Linked DNA regions of Homo sapiens: all the other regions are linked to region 1. The links are contacts of gene promoters, found by promoter capture Hi-C in human tissues and cell types (Jung and others, 2019). All regions are on one chromosome and are shown on one strand. The core of a region is centred on a gene start or on the middle of the fragment in contact, and the rest is flanking DNA. Distances in the headings are between cores, read along the strand shown.

Region 1 (4,277 bases), core at 579-3,078:
CCAGATATCTACATTCCATGCCGAACTTATTGAGGATTTCCTCACTGGATTCCACTACTGCTGGTGCCACCTGGGTCCTCATAGTGTTTCCTTTTCCTTTTAGTTGTAGGGGAATAAAGCATTCATTTATTTTCCAAGGGTTGGCTGAGTTAAGTCACATGAACATGTGTTCTATTTCAGATGGGTTTGAAACTAGGCTTGATGCCTTAAGGAATAGGGATGTCTAGATTTCTTTTTTCTGTACACTGCTTAAGACTCTGTGGCCAGCTAACTCTCAGGCTCCTTTGCTGCACTCAGATTGCTGGCCTCAGTTACACAGAGGACAGATTTGCCACATTCAAAAATGCTCTCCCTGGAATTGAAATGAGTTTGCAAAAGGTAGGAGTACATTTTATTCTCATTCTTGTGCATCTTATTTACCCTGATGGAAAGCATTACTTCTCTTTATCTTTCAAGGTGACCCAAAAGCATCCAAAACCAGGTTTTCCAGAATTATAGCATGTGTCCTCTAATGAAATGCCAACATTCACTCTCTTTAAAAGTAAAAATATCAAGATTATATAGTCATTAAAAAGAATAAGTCTGAACTAAGTGTTCTAAGATTTGATGCCTATGATGACTGGAATGGAAAAAGCAAGTCATATGATTCTATTTAAAATACTTACATTTGCCTGTGTGTAAAAGGCAAAGATCTCAATTGAGCACACGGTGGTTAACTGGGGAGTGGGACTATGGTATGTACAGAGGGCGAGGAAGGGGCTTGCACTTGTTCCTTATTTCTGAATTGTTCTGAATTGTCTAGATTATTCACTGAGTGTGTAGTGCTTAAAAATTAATTAGAAGACATCACACACATTCACTGAGAATCCTAATCAATCTTCACTGCATTTAAAGTCTGGAAACGGTTACATTCTCAGTTTGACTGGTTTCATGCAGTGTTCAATTGCTTCACCTGACATTCCTCGGGTATCGGGTTCTGTGCCGGGCACGGAGGCTACTAAGATGAATAACACCTGGTCCATGACAGGATGGCATCTACCCCAGAACACAGGTAAGAGAGACAGTGAATTTGGTAAAAATGGGCACCGTCATCAGTAGGCATACATCAGCTCCCTCATCTGATTCACAATTGGCCTTCTGTAGGCTTCTTCTCTTGGCAATGCAATTGGCAGGCGTCATCCTTTTATACTTAAACTCCAAATTTAGGATTAAGACTCCAGTTAATACTGCCAAGCAGAAGGCGTCCTTGGAGAAAGAGAAGTCTCCTGAACATACCCACTGGGGTACCTAGAATAGATTTTGCAGCGACACACAGATCCTGTGTTGTCTGGAGTCTCTGCTGAGTAATGTAGATTCTGGGACAGCAAAAGGGGAGCTGGTGACTTTGAACCAAATTTTACCTTTCAACTGAATCCAGGGGAATAATTTGCAACAGAGTGGCAGACGATACAAAGTGCTATGTTGAACACTAGATTGTGCTTTATTTTTTCCGCCCAACTTCACGTTTCCATGCACCAAAATGTTGATGCTATAAATATTGGATGCCACGCTTACCTGACAGGCTTCTTCCATCCCACCTGGGCGCGGGGGCTCAGAGCGAGCGCGCGAGCCGCGGCTGGAGCCCGCCTCTCGCGGCTGGAGAGGACTCAGCCGGCCGCGGGTTCTGCTGCTTGCCCGGGTGCCCTAGCCGCTTCCCAGCCAGGGCTCCCGCAGTCAGCCCCGCGCGCGCACGCGCGCTCCCCTCGGGCGGCCTCGACGCCTCAGGGCTTCGGCAGGGCTGCGACTGGCCGGCTCCAGCGGGCGGGGCGGCGAGCGAGTGCTCGCGGCCACGTGACCGACGCCAACATGGCGGCGCCCAGTGGCGTCCACCTGCTCGTCCGCAGAGGTAAGCGCGTGGAGGAGAGCCCCGTGAGGGTTCGCACGGTTGCTCACTAGGTACGCACCCGGGTCCAAAGGGATGCGCACCCGCGCTCAGACTTCTCGGCGCACACGACTGTACTTTCAGTGTTTACGAACACACGCAGGCACACACGATGACACATTCACACACCACAGGATCACACATACAAATTTGTTCACTGATCACCCGCCTAGAACACGTCACCACGTGGCATCTTTTCGCAATTACTCCTTGAGATTTGCGGGCCATTGTCTGAAGTTTTTTTCCCCAACTTCGGTTGTATCATTAGTGTAACCAACATTTATTCTGTATGCCGAGCAAGGAAACCTATGGTAATTCTGAAATGCATCTGGACACCCGGTTCCCTTCCCTAGAGCTTTTATGCAGGCATGCTTTTTGGGGACTTGCAAAATGTGATGGTTTTCTTCCAGTGACTTAAAGTTAAGAAGATAAGAAAGGATGTCTGGGTAGTTCTAAGTAGGTTTTATCCTGCGTGAGTGTTGAGATTTTAGTAAATATACAAATGCCTTTGCAGCAGAATTGGGGAAATCTTTGTTGGATTTGAACTAGGTGCTGAATCTTTGTTGGAAAGAACTAGAAAGTTTTTCCAAGGACGGGGGAAGAGGAAAACTATCATATTTTGAGGAGCTACTTAAGCGTCAGGCATGTAGGAACAGTTTTGTGAGGTAAATATTATTTTCATAGTAACAGCTACTGTTTATTAAGTGCCTTTTAAGTACACGATACTGTGTTAAGCGCCTTACATATGCTTGCTTCCTTTTAAAACTCAATGAATGAGACCCCGTCTCTACAAAAAATTTTAAAAATTAGTCGGGCGTGGTGACACATGCCTGTAGTCTCAGCTATTCTGGGGGTTGAGGTGGTAGGATCGCTTGAGCCTGGGAGGTCAAGAGGCTGCAGTGAGCCGTGATCGTACCACTGAACTCCAGACTTGGCAATAGAGCCAGACCCTGTCTCAAAAACAAAAACAAAAACCCAGTGAGTTAGGAATTATTTTCTCTTTGCAGAAGGGAAAAGTAAGGCTAGAGAGGTTAAGTAACATTACTAAGGTCGCATAAATGGTAAGAGGCAGATTGCTCATTTGAACATGACTCTAATTTTTTTTTTTAAGACTCATTTCTCGGTACTGCATGACGTGGTCACTCCATAGAAGTCAGTGTGTAAAGTTCAGCAGAGACAGTGCAGGATGAGTGTGTACAAAAAGTGAAGAGAGCCTGGGCACGGTGGCTCACACCTGTAAACCCAGCACTTTGGGAGGCCGAGGCAGGTGGCTCACTTGAGGTCAGAAGTTCAAGACCAGCCTGGCCAACATGGTGAAACCCCGTCTCTACTAATATACACAATTAGCTGGGCGTGGTGGCGCATGCCTGTAATCCCAGCTACTCGGGAGACTGAGGTAGGAAAATTGCTTTAACCCAGGAGGTGGAGGTTGCAGTGAGCTGAGATCATACCACTACACTCTAGCCTGGGCGACAGAGCGAGACTCCGTCTCAGAAAAAAAAAATAAATAAAAATAATAAAAAATAAGAAGTGAAGAGGAAGATATTTTTAGAGAGGAAGAAGGTTGGTAATCGAATAGACTTCAGTATTTCAGTGTTAGTGGAGATGAGAAAGGGGCCACAGGAAGATTTGAGGGGAGAGATGTGTATGGGGAAGGTGATGTAGCGAGCATTTTGGACTGGTTGCATGAAGGAATGGACATCAGCATGAGAGTGTAGCCTTGTGAAAAGACAGCCAATTTACATCTCTCAAGATCTGGGTGCCAGGCCTGGCAAGGTGGCTAATGCCTGTAATATTACCCAGCACTTTGGGAGGCCAAGGCGGGCAGATCACTTGAGGCCAGGAGTTCAAGACCAGCCTGGCCAACATGGTGAAACCTGTCTCTACTAAAAATACAAAAATTAGCCAGGTGTGGTGGCACATGCTGGTAATCCCAGCTACTTGGGAGGTGGAGGTGGGAGGGATCGCCTGAACCCAGGAGGCGGAGGTTGTAGTGAGCTGAAAAAAAAAAAAAAAAGATCTGGGTTCCAGTCCAAACTTTCTTTACTAATTACTTTTCTGTTTCCTCTTTTCACAAGAAATCATGGCTTTTAGACTTCATTTTTGTATGCTTCAGGTAATGGTGAGAAGGATCTGAGGAGATAGTCAATGTAGAGGAGGAGCCAAAAAAAAAACAACCTGAAAACATACATAGGTGTATGTATGTATATATATATACACCTATGCATGTATAAACGTATTTTTATATGTGTGTATATATGTATTAGGTTGGTACAAAAGTAATTGCAGTTTTAGAATCAATGACAAAAACTGTGATTACTTTGCACCAACTGTATATATAACATCTCTTTGCAGA
Region 2 (3,882 bases), core at 560-3,059, 190 kb before region 1:
AAAATTTAAAACTTATTCCATATGATTATTGAGAAAACCTGCTTAGAATCCCTTGAGTTCAAGAGAAATGCCACTAAGATATCTATTATATCTGTGCAAAAAGGTCAACGGAATGTATTTGTCACAAGAAGCGCCTAACAGTAATACTTACACAGCCTCCAGCAAGAACTTCTGCTGGAAGTGGAACAGAGCCATCTCTTCTGGTAAATTTGTCCCGAACAAAATCATTAACCTAATTAGAAAGACAACATCAGTTAACCAAAATTCCCAACCATTTCTCTTCTGGCATACTGTTGCTTTTCCAAGTCAGCAAAATATTTGTCTTATGATAAAATTTAAAATTATCAAATGCTTACATGTAAAATTAAAGTTGTACAAATTCTGCGACAGTGTGCCAGTGTCAGCAGCATCAATTTTAGTTTTGTTTTTGAGACAGGGTCTCACTCTGTTGCTCAGGCTGGAGTGCAGTGGCATGATCATAGCTCACTACAGCCTCAAATTCCTGGACTCAAGCAATCCTCCCACATCAGCCTCCTGGCATAAATCACCACACTTGGCTAATTTTTAATTTTGTTGTTGTTGTTGTTGTTTTGGTAGAGCTGAGTTCTTACTATGCTTATGCTGGTTTAGAACTGGTCTCAAGTGATCCTCCCACCACCCAAAATGCTGAGATTATAGGCATGAGCTACCACGCCTAGCCTTGATTTTAGCTTTTTGGCTTAATGGTAATCTAAACAAATGACATAAATTCAGTTAGAGATAAACTTACAGTCAGTTTAATGGCCTTTTCTGGAGCAACCCCTATAAGTTGTGGTATCAGACCTAGGTAAAGGGACAGAATCATCAGCAATATAGCTGTACCAGACATGAATACACAAGCCCAGCAACAAAGAGTTTCCCCCATATTATTTACCCATCAAACATTGCAGAGTTTTCATTAAAATGGGAAAAAGATTATCCTTAAAACTCTGTATACATATGTAATAATTATTTACAAATGCAGTATAATGTCACGTTTTCTTGAGGCTATAAATCCTCTTCTTAAGCATGCTTACTTTAAAGCCTAGTTATCCAACACTTCCCAAAAAGTCCATGAAGAAGAAACGGAGCCATGCGTCTTCTCTATTCTGGGAACACTGCCAATAACAATGTAACCAAATTCCCTCCCTTATTACAACCAACAACATATAAACATACACAGATACTGTACACTTGGAAAAGCTCTGAAAAGCATGCTGTTAAGCATACCCAGATTTTGCTACCTACATAATGGCATACAGTGGCTTCGTTATTATAGAATACTAACTCCCATAATCTTCTCTTCAGAGAAACACAGCATTCAATATTCATTTATTTAAAAGGAAGCCAAAACTGCAAAGAAAAATGCAGTTTTAAGTATTGTTTAACGAGTATCTCCTATAAGCAAAAACATATGCCTGTTGTATTCTTATTGACTAATATATGTCAAGCTTAAGACATTTTAAAAGAATCCCCTCAAAACAAAGGAAATCATAATCCTTAGAAAGTTAAATTCCCCAGGCTGGTTGTAAACTGGAAAAGAAAAAAATAAACAATTCAACATCTGTTGGGCTCAGCTTTCTAAAGCACACAGCTTATCCAAATTGTTAGCATACTTTTTTGCATACATTTTTTAAAGATGCTAACAATAAACATTTTATATCCTTTAAATCATCCAGCCAAAGGGGAGTTATATATGTGTTTGCCTGCTTGCTGACTGCTGATCTTAAGCCTGCTTTGAGGATACTGCTGAGTTCCATAAGTTGAGAGCCACAAGTAATCATACATATAGGCTACTGTCAGTCAGGCTGAATTATCAATGATACACACAAAGCCTCACACACCTTTCATGCGTAGCAGACTGATTTAAAAGAACAAATCAGCAGATGGCAGTATTAACTTTCTAACCCTCGTGATTATCAGGCTCTATTACTTTTAATCTAACTCCCATACAACCATGTCAGCATGCATATTTGTTTTACAACTCGCCTCAATAAGGCTCATGGAATTTAATAAAGTACTGATTTGTGTCATTTTATCATTGTTGCCTGCGAAGAAATTTAGCTAATCTGTCAACAATTTTGTCAATCATCTGACAGAATAATGGACCAGTTGCAAGCAATATATGACAATCTCAATAATCATAGTGCTCACATACAGGACTCCTACAATCTTCTCCCTAATACAAAAGTCTCTCATTTAAAGAACTGCTTTTATGAGCTTACATCCTGAATAAAACCAACAATCCCCTCCCCTACTTGCTATATTGCATCCATTTAATAAACATGACATCTCTCTCAAATGAAATCTTCTGTAAGCATCTATCCATTGAGAAGGCTAAACTATGCAGTAAATATCTAGGTTCCTTTTAATAGGGGACATTTTCTTTGCAATTTAAAAGTATACCAAAGAGGAGAAAGGTCATTATTCAACAAAGAAATATTGGAGATATCAAGGAAAAAAACAACCTTAATGCCACTCAACCTTGATTCCCCATTAAATAAAATCTGGATATGCAGGGTTTAATCAGTTAAAACAAGCATTCACATGGAAAGGTCTGCATTCTGGATATTGTACGCCTTTCCACAGGGTACATGCTGTACAGGTGGAATTCAAAGAGACTACAGTTCTGAATATTTGAGGAAAACTCATCACATTCATTCTCAAGAGCAGGGTACTTGAGCCTAGTTTGATTTCGGAATAACTCTCTCCTATTATTCTATATATAATGCTAAAAATGAACATCCTTGTGACCCTCTACTTCAATTATGAGTTTATCGGAGTTATATTTTTTGCTTGAATACCTGTATATAATGCTAACCAGCGGTGTTTTTTTCCTCCTGTCCATGAGCATAAAGCTCTGTTCGGGCCCAGTCTTTCTTAGGAAGATTTCTAAGCCAAATAGTTCAACAGAGCTCAGAATAGGCTAGGGATTAATGAGCTTGTATGTGCAAACAAACAAGTACAGTAAATTACATAAATGGCATGGACTTGAGCATGTAGAGAGTATTTTCATAGAATCCCAAGTGGCGCCCAAAGAGATTAAAAAATTAATCTCCCTCCCAAAGGAAACCCTATATTCTAATGTGAAAACACATACATGAAAGTCATTCTCTCTCCAAAGAGACAAGTTCCTACAAAGACAACGGGGGGTGGGGAAAATTCTGCATGGGGCGCAGTGCTGCCTCTGATGCCAACTGCACTGTGCTCAGTCTAGAGTGGCTGCTAACATTCCCTGCGAAAGAAAATCTCTCTGTTTTGACTGTACACCTCTGAGCTAAGTGGGGGAAAGAAGCAAGAATTAGACTTGGAACCAAAGGGTTTTCCTTTTTTTTTTTTTTTTTAAACCTTCAGATGGCTCATTGGAAAAAATTTATAAATGGTCCCTGAAAGAGACAAAAACATTTGATATTTATTTCAGTTGAAATAAATATATGGAGGGTAAACTCATCTTTGAGTGGTAACCTGGATTCTTTTTCACAGGAAAGAGATGTATTTCTCCTCTTTAATTCTTTGAGAAAAGCAGCTCTATATTTCTTAACTATCATCCTTGTATTCCACCTGCAGATATGTGCCTTGGTTTGTAGGAGCATGGTGACATAGACCCATGTTGGGACAAACACATAATTTGGACACCAAGAAATATAAACCACAAGAAGAAGAAATGAAGACCTTATTTGCAGATTAATATTGCTAATCACCAGAAAGAATGCAAAAAGGGAAATGAGCAAAGAGAAAATAAAAAGAGAGAAACAGACCTAGTCTGGCTAGGCATACTACATATTGGCTTCCATAATTAGTGAGTTAAAATCTGCTGCTGGTGAGATCAAATCACTAACTTCAGCAGCTGGGATTTGCTTACTC
Region 3 (3,881 bases), core at 500-2,999, 250 kb before region 1:
AAATAATGTGTCTAGTCTTCTGAGAATTTTTTATACAAAGACTTATTTTCCCAAACCATTTTCAAGGATCGACTATAATGTCATTCATAATATATCACTGAAGAAGAAGAAAGTTGGGGAAATTCTTACCTGTTTTCATCTTTGTTTTTAAAAATGTAGCCAGCTTGAGAGAAGAATTACTGTTTTACATGTTTATAGAAATCTTGATGAAACTTTTAACACTGTCCTTTATTTTAAATGACTTTAGGTACCAACTGCCAGCATTTCTGTGGAGGGTAATCCTGCTCTTAATCGTGTGAGATGGACCCATTCTGGCAGAGAGATTGCTGTGGGTGATTCTGAAGGACAGATTGTTATATACGATGTGGGAGAGGTATGGGACTCCCTGCCTGTAATTTTGACACATCGATTTAGTTGCATTGTAGTAAAGGCATCTTTGTGGCTAACCCTAGGCTTTGAGGTTTATGAGTTGTTTAAACTATATGGTTGTAAAGATAAAACTTACTTTCTACCACAGAAGCAGCTCTTGAAACATTTTCTTTCTAAACCGAATGTTCTGTTTCCCATGCAACAGATTTTGAGGGTAATACAATAAATACATTGAAAATACCTTGTTTCTTGAAGCATGCATTGCTGGAAATTAGAAATTCTTTGGGGAGAAGTTTGGAGTTATAGGTGGACTTTGGGGTTTTATTGATATTGAAATAAGATTTATTTTTCTGTATTCATTAATTTGGGCCAGGTAGTAGAAACCAAAAGTAGTATCTTTTGAGAACCATCTGTGACTTTATGCAATGTGCATCTTGACTCTTAAGCCTTGATGCAAAGCCACAGTAATGGAATCCAATAGGATGAGCTGCAGCTCTCTCATCTTTGCTGCTCTGATTGGCTGAACACAAAGCCCAGGATGGATTTCCTCTTTTTTAACCCTGGCTAGGGGTTAAAAAAGTGACCTTAGTCACTTTCCTTTGCTATGCCTCATGATTTCTCTCCTCTCTGGATATCCCATGGCCTCTAGCAATTGGATCTGGTGGGAGGTAGATTTAATCATTTACAGCAGCCAATTAAACTATCTGCACAAATGGAAATGTTCTGTACCTGCACTAATATGGTAGCTTCTAGCCACATATGGCTATTGAACACTCTAAGTGTTGCTACTACAACTGCGTAACTGAATTTTTAATTTTAATTAATTTTAATATACACAGTCACATGTGGCCAGTAGCTACCCTACTGGATAGTGTAGATTTATAAACAGGCACAGCCATTTGCCACAGTGAGTGGTTTGTGCCCTAACATGACAGTGTCAGACTCCTATGATATTATAATGGCAGTTATCAAAAATATTTGTTATTGGGGCCGGGCGCAGTGGCTCACACCTGTAATCCCAGCACTTTGGGAGGATGAGGCGGGTGGATCACCTGAGGTCAGGAGTTCGAGACCAGCCTGGCCAACATGGCAAAACCCCATCTCTACTGAAAATACAAAAATTAGCCAGGCATGGTGGCACATACCTGTAATCCCAGCTACTGGGGAGGCTGAGGCAGGAGAATCACTTGAACCTGGGAGGCAGAGGTTACAGTGAGCCAAGATAGTGCCACTGCACTCCAGCCTGGGCAACAGAGTGGGACTGTCTCAAAAAAAAAAAAAAATTATATATATATATATATATATATATGTTATTGGGCTGCCTCTGAAGTAAAGCATCACAAGGCTCTTTTGCCACCAGTGCAGCACTAAAGTGGTAAATAGTAGCACAGCTTTTGATGAAGGAGTTAAGGTATCAAGAAAGATTACCTTATGTTCCAAAGAAAAATACTTACAAGAAACGAGCCCCCTTATGAACCATGCTTCAAACACTGTTTCTTACTAGGAATTTTGCAAGAATACAGTAAAAAAAAAATTTTAAGGAATTCCTCTCCAGCAAAATCCATGAGATGGTGCATAGGAGTTATATTTACAAAGCATCATTGTTATTCTCTCTTGCATTGGTGGTGATAATAGCCAAGTCATTTCTGAGGCTGTCACAACACACTTCACAAACACCGTCTTTTGTTTTGAAATGTTGTAAATCATTGTTATAGTCCCCGTAATTATGGAAAGGCCATTCAGGTCAATTATTACTTTTTAACAGAAAAATTATTTGAAAACAAACTGAATAATAGTGGGTAAAATGATCTTTTATTTCATTGTATATAAAACATTGTCTTTCTTTTAACAGCAGATTGCTGTTCCCCGCAATGATGAATGGGCACGGTTTGGCCGAACACTTGCAGAAATTAATGCAAACCGAGCTGATGCAGAGGAGGAAGCAGCTACCCGAATACCTGCTTAGTTCCTGAAAAGGGGAGTGTAACTAGTGGATTTGGGAAAGGTTCTTAAGTAGATCCTGAGACTATTTGCATGCTTCTGTCTAAATGATAATTAAAAGGAAATTTCATGGATTAAACCATGGGTTTAATGCAGCAAGGAAACTTACAATGTCCCTTTATATATAACATGCATCTTGTTTTGGATTTGTGTCATTTTTTAATATAGCTGATTGACTTCACAGAAAGCAGCTTTTTTGAATTCTAATACATAGGTGTATATTTGGTATTAGTTATTTTGAGTTCTTTTCAACTTATAACACTGTATACAGTTATTTCTAAAGCACAGATGAAATAAGTTCTGCATATTTTTAAATAATCACAGTTCCCTGTTATACAGATAATGTTCTCACTACCCATAATATGTAGGAACATTGTTTCTCCTTAGCCGTAGTATGCATACACCTATCCATGTTCATTCTGACATCCTTTGTTGTCTTTATAATTCATGTGGTAGTTACCTATAAATAAAAACAAATATGCGTTAACTTTTCAAATTTTCATTTTTACTCCTTACAACTTGAATTTTTCCATCTTTTATAAAATATATTTTTTCCATATCTTTCTTTAAGCTCCTGCTGTGAGCAGCCATCTCAAATCCTATAGAGCTGTGTACCCTAAATATACCATGTGGTATATACTATAGATCTCCCAGTGCATTATGAATTGATGTCTAGATAATCTGTTGGTGAAAAAATTTCCCCTAGGTTAACTTTTGCTTTACTACTTTATATTCTTTCCATCTAAGACATATTTCCTTTAAAGGATAAATAGAAAGCTGCCTATAATTTTCACTGATTAAGAACTATGTATGTGACCTCACTGAGAGTAAAATCTTTGAGAGAAATTGATTTCATGATTTCAGTAGCCATAAAGGCAAAGTGCTCAAATGGACCCATACTTTGGCATTAAAATCTACATCTTGAGATCTGTTGCCACAGCATTGTCTACAAGTCCGAAAGGTAGGTGACAAATATCTAAGAATCAGTATTGAAATCAGTGAATTTCAGGAATAGAGGAAAGGACTATGATCAGATCTTGATTTTATCTACTTTAAATTGTCTATTTATTTGATCCCAACCTTTTGTACTTCTGAAGTGTAACTGTCTTTTATTCAACAGAACATGAACTAGGAAGAGAGATTAGAAAACAGAATGTGAACATTTTTCTTTTAATAATTGTAACAAAGATTTGTTGGGAGAGAAATTTCCAAATAATGAGTAGTGTATAGTGTAAGGAATAATTGACCTGGAATTATTGGCCCCAAACTCTGATTCTTGCTGAAGCATCTATGAGAAGTGTGATTTTAGCCAAGTCTGTGCCGCATTCTTTATATGTAGGAATTAAGTTTTGATTTAATGATTTCTGAATTTTCTTTCAGCTCTACTCAATTAAGGGGTATCAGTATGTGAAATGGAATATAGAAAAGTAGGCAATTCTTTACTTTTCTATATTCAGTTTCATAAATTAATACCCCATAATTGCCCATTATATACCAAAGACAATATCTCA

The links. Contacts are between HindIII fragments. The study calls those that stand out against the background at their distance.
Region 2: a contact is called between a fragment that was not itself captured here and the fragment with the promoter of METAP1D in region 1, in 4 of the 25 tissues and cell types used here (H1 embryonic stem cells, heart left ventricle, liver and 1 more).
Region 3: a fragment that was not itself captured here is called in contact with the fragment with the promoter of METAP1D in region 1 in 1 of the 25 tissues and cell types used here (IMR-90 fibroblasts).

Annotation. Positions count from the first base shown.
Region 1 is chr2:171,998,125-172,002,401 of GRCh38, forward strand. METAP1D (methionyl aminopeptidase type 1D, mitochondrial) reads left to right here and starts at 1,829. Exons shown (of 10, transcript NM_199227.3): 1 at 1,829-1,885. The coding sequence starts at 1,846. It overlaps LOC124905590 (a long non-coding RNA gene), which reads right to left and starts at 1,785. Exons shown (of 3, transcript XR_007087296.1): 1 at 1,555-1,785. RefSeq lists a silencer at 1,524-1,823. The HindIII fragment of the contact is 22,489 bases long and covers 1-4,277 here.
Region 2 is chr2:171,809,455-171,813,336 of GRCh38, forward strand. SLC25A12 (solute carrier family 25 member 12) reads right to left here. Exons shown (of 18, transcript NM_003705.5): 12 at 770-822; 13 at 152-232. Among named protein-coding and RNA genes, the nearest start is that of SLC25A12, 83 kb to the right of the region's middle. The HindIII fragment of the contact is 4,001 bases long and covers 1-3,810 here.
Region 3 is chr2:171,745,555-171,749,435 of GRCh38, forward strand. It overlaps DYNC1I2 (dynein cytoplasmic 1 intermediate chain 2), which reads left to right. Exons shown (of 18, transcript NM_001378.3): 17 at 248-373; 18 at 2,222-3,881. The coding sequence ends at 2,335. Among named protein-coding and RNA genes, the nearest start is that of DYNC1I2, 60 kb to the left of the region's middle. The HindIII fragment of the contact is 5,468 bases long and covers 1-3,881 here.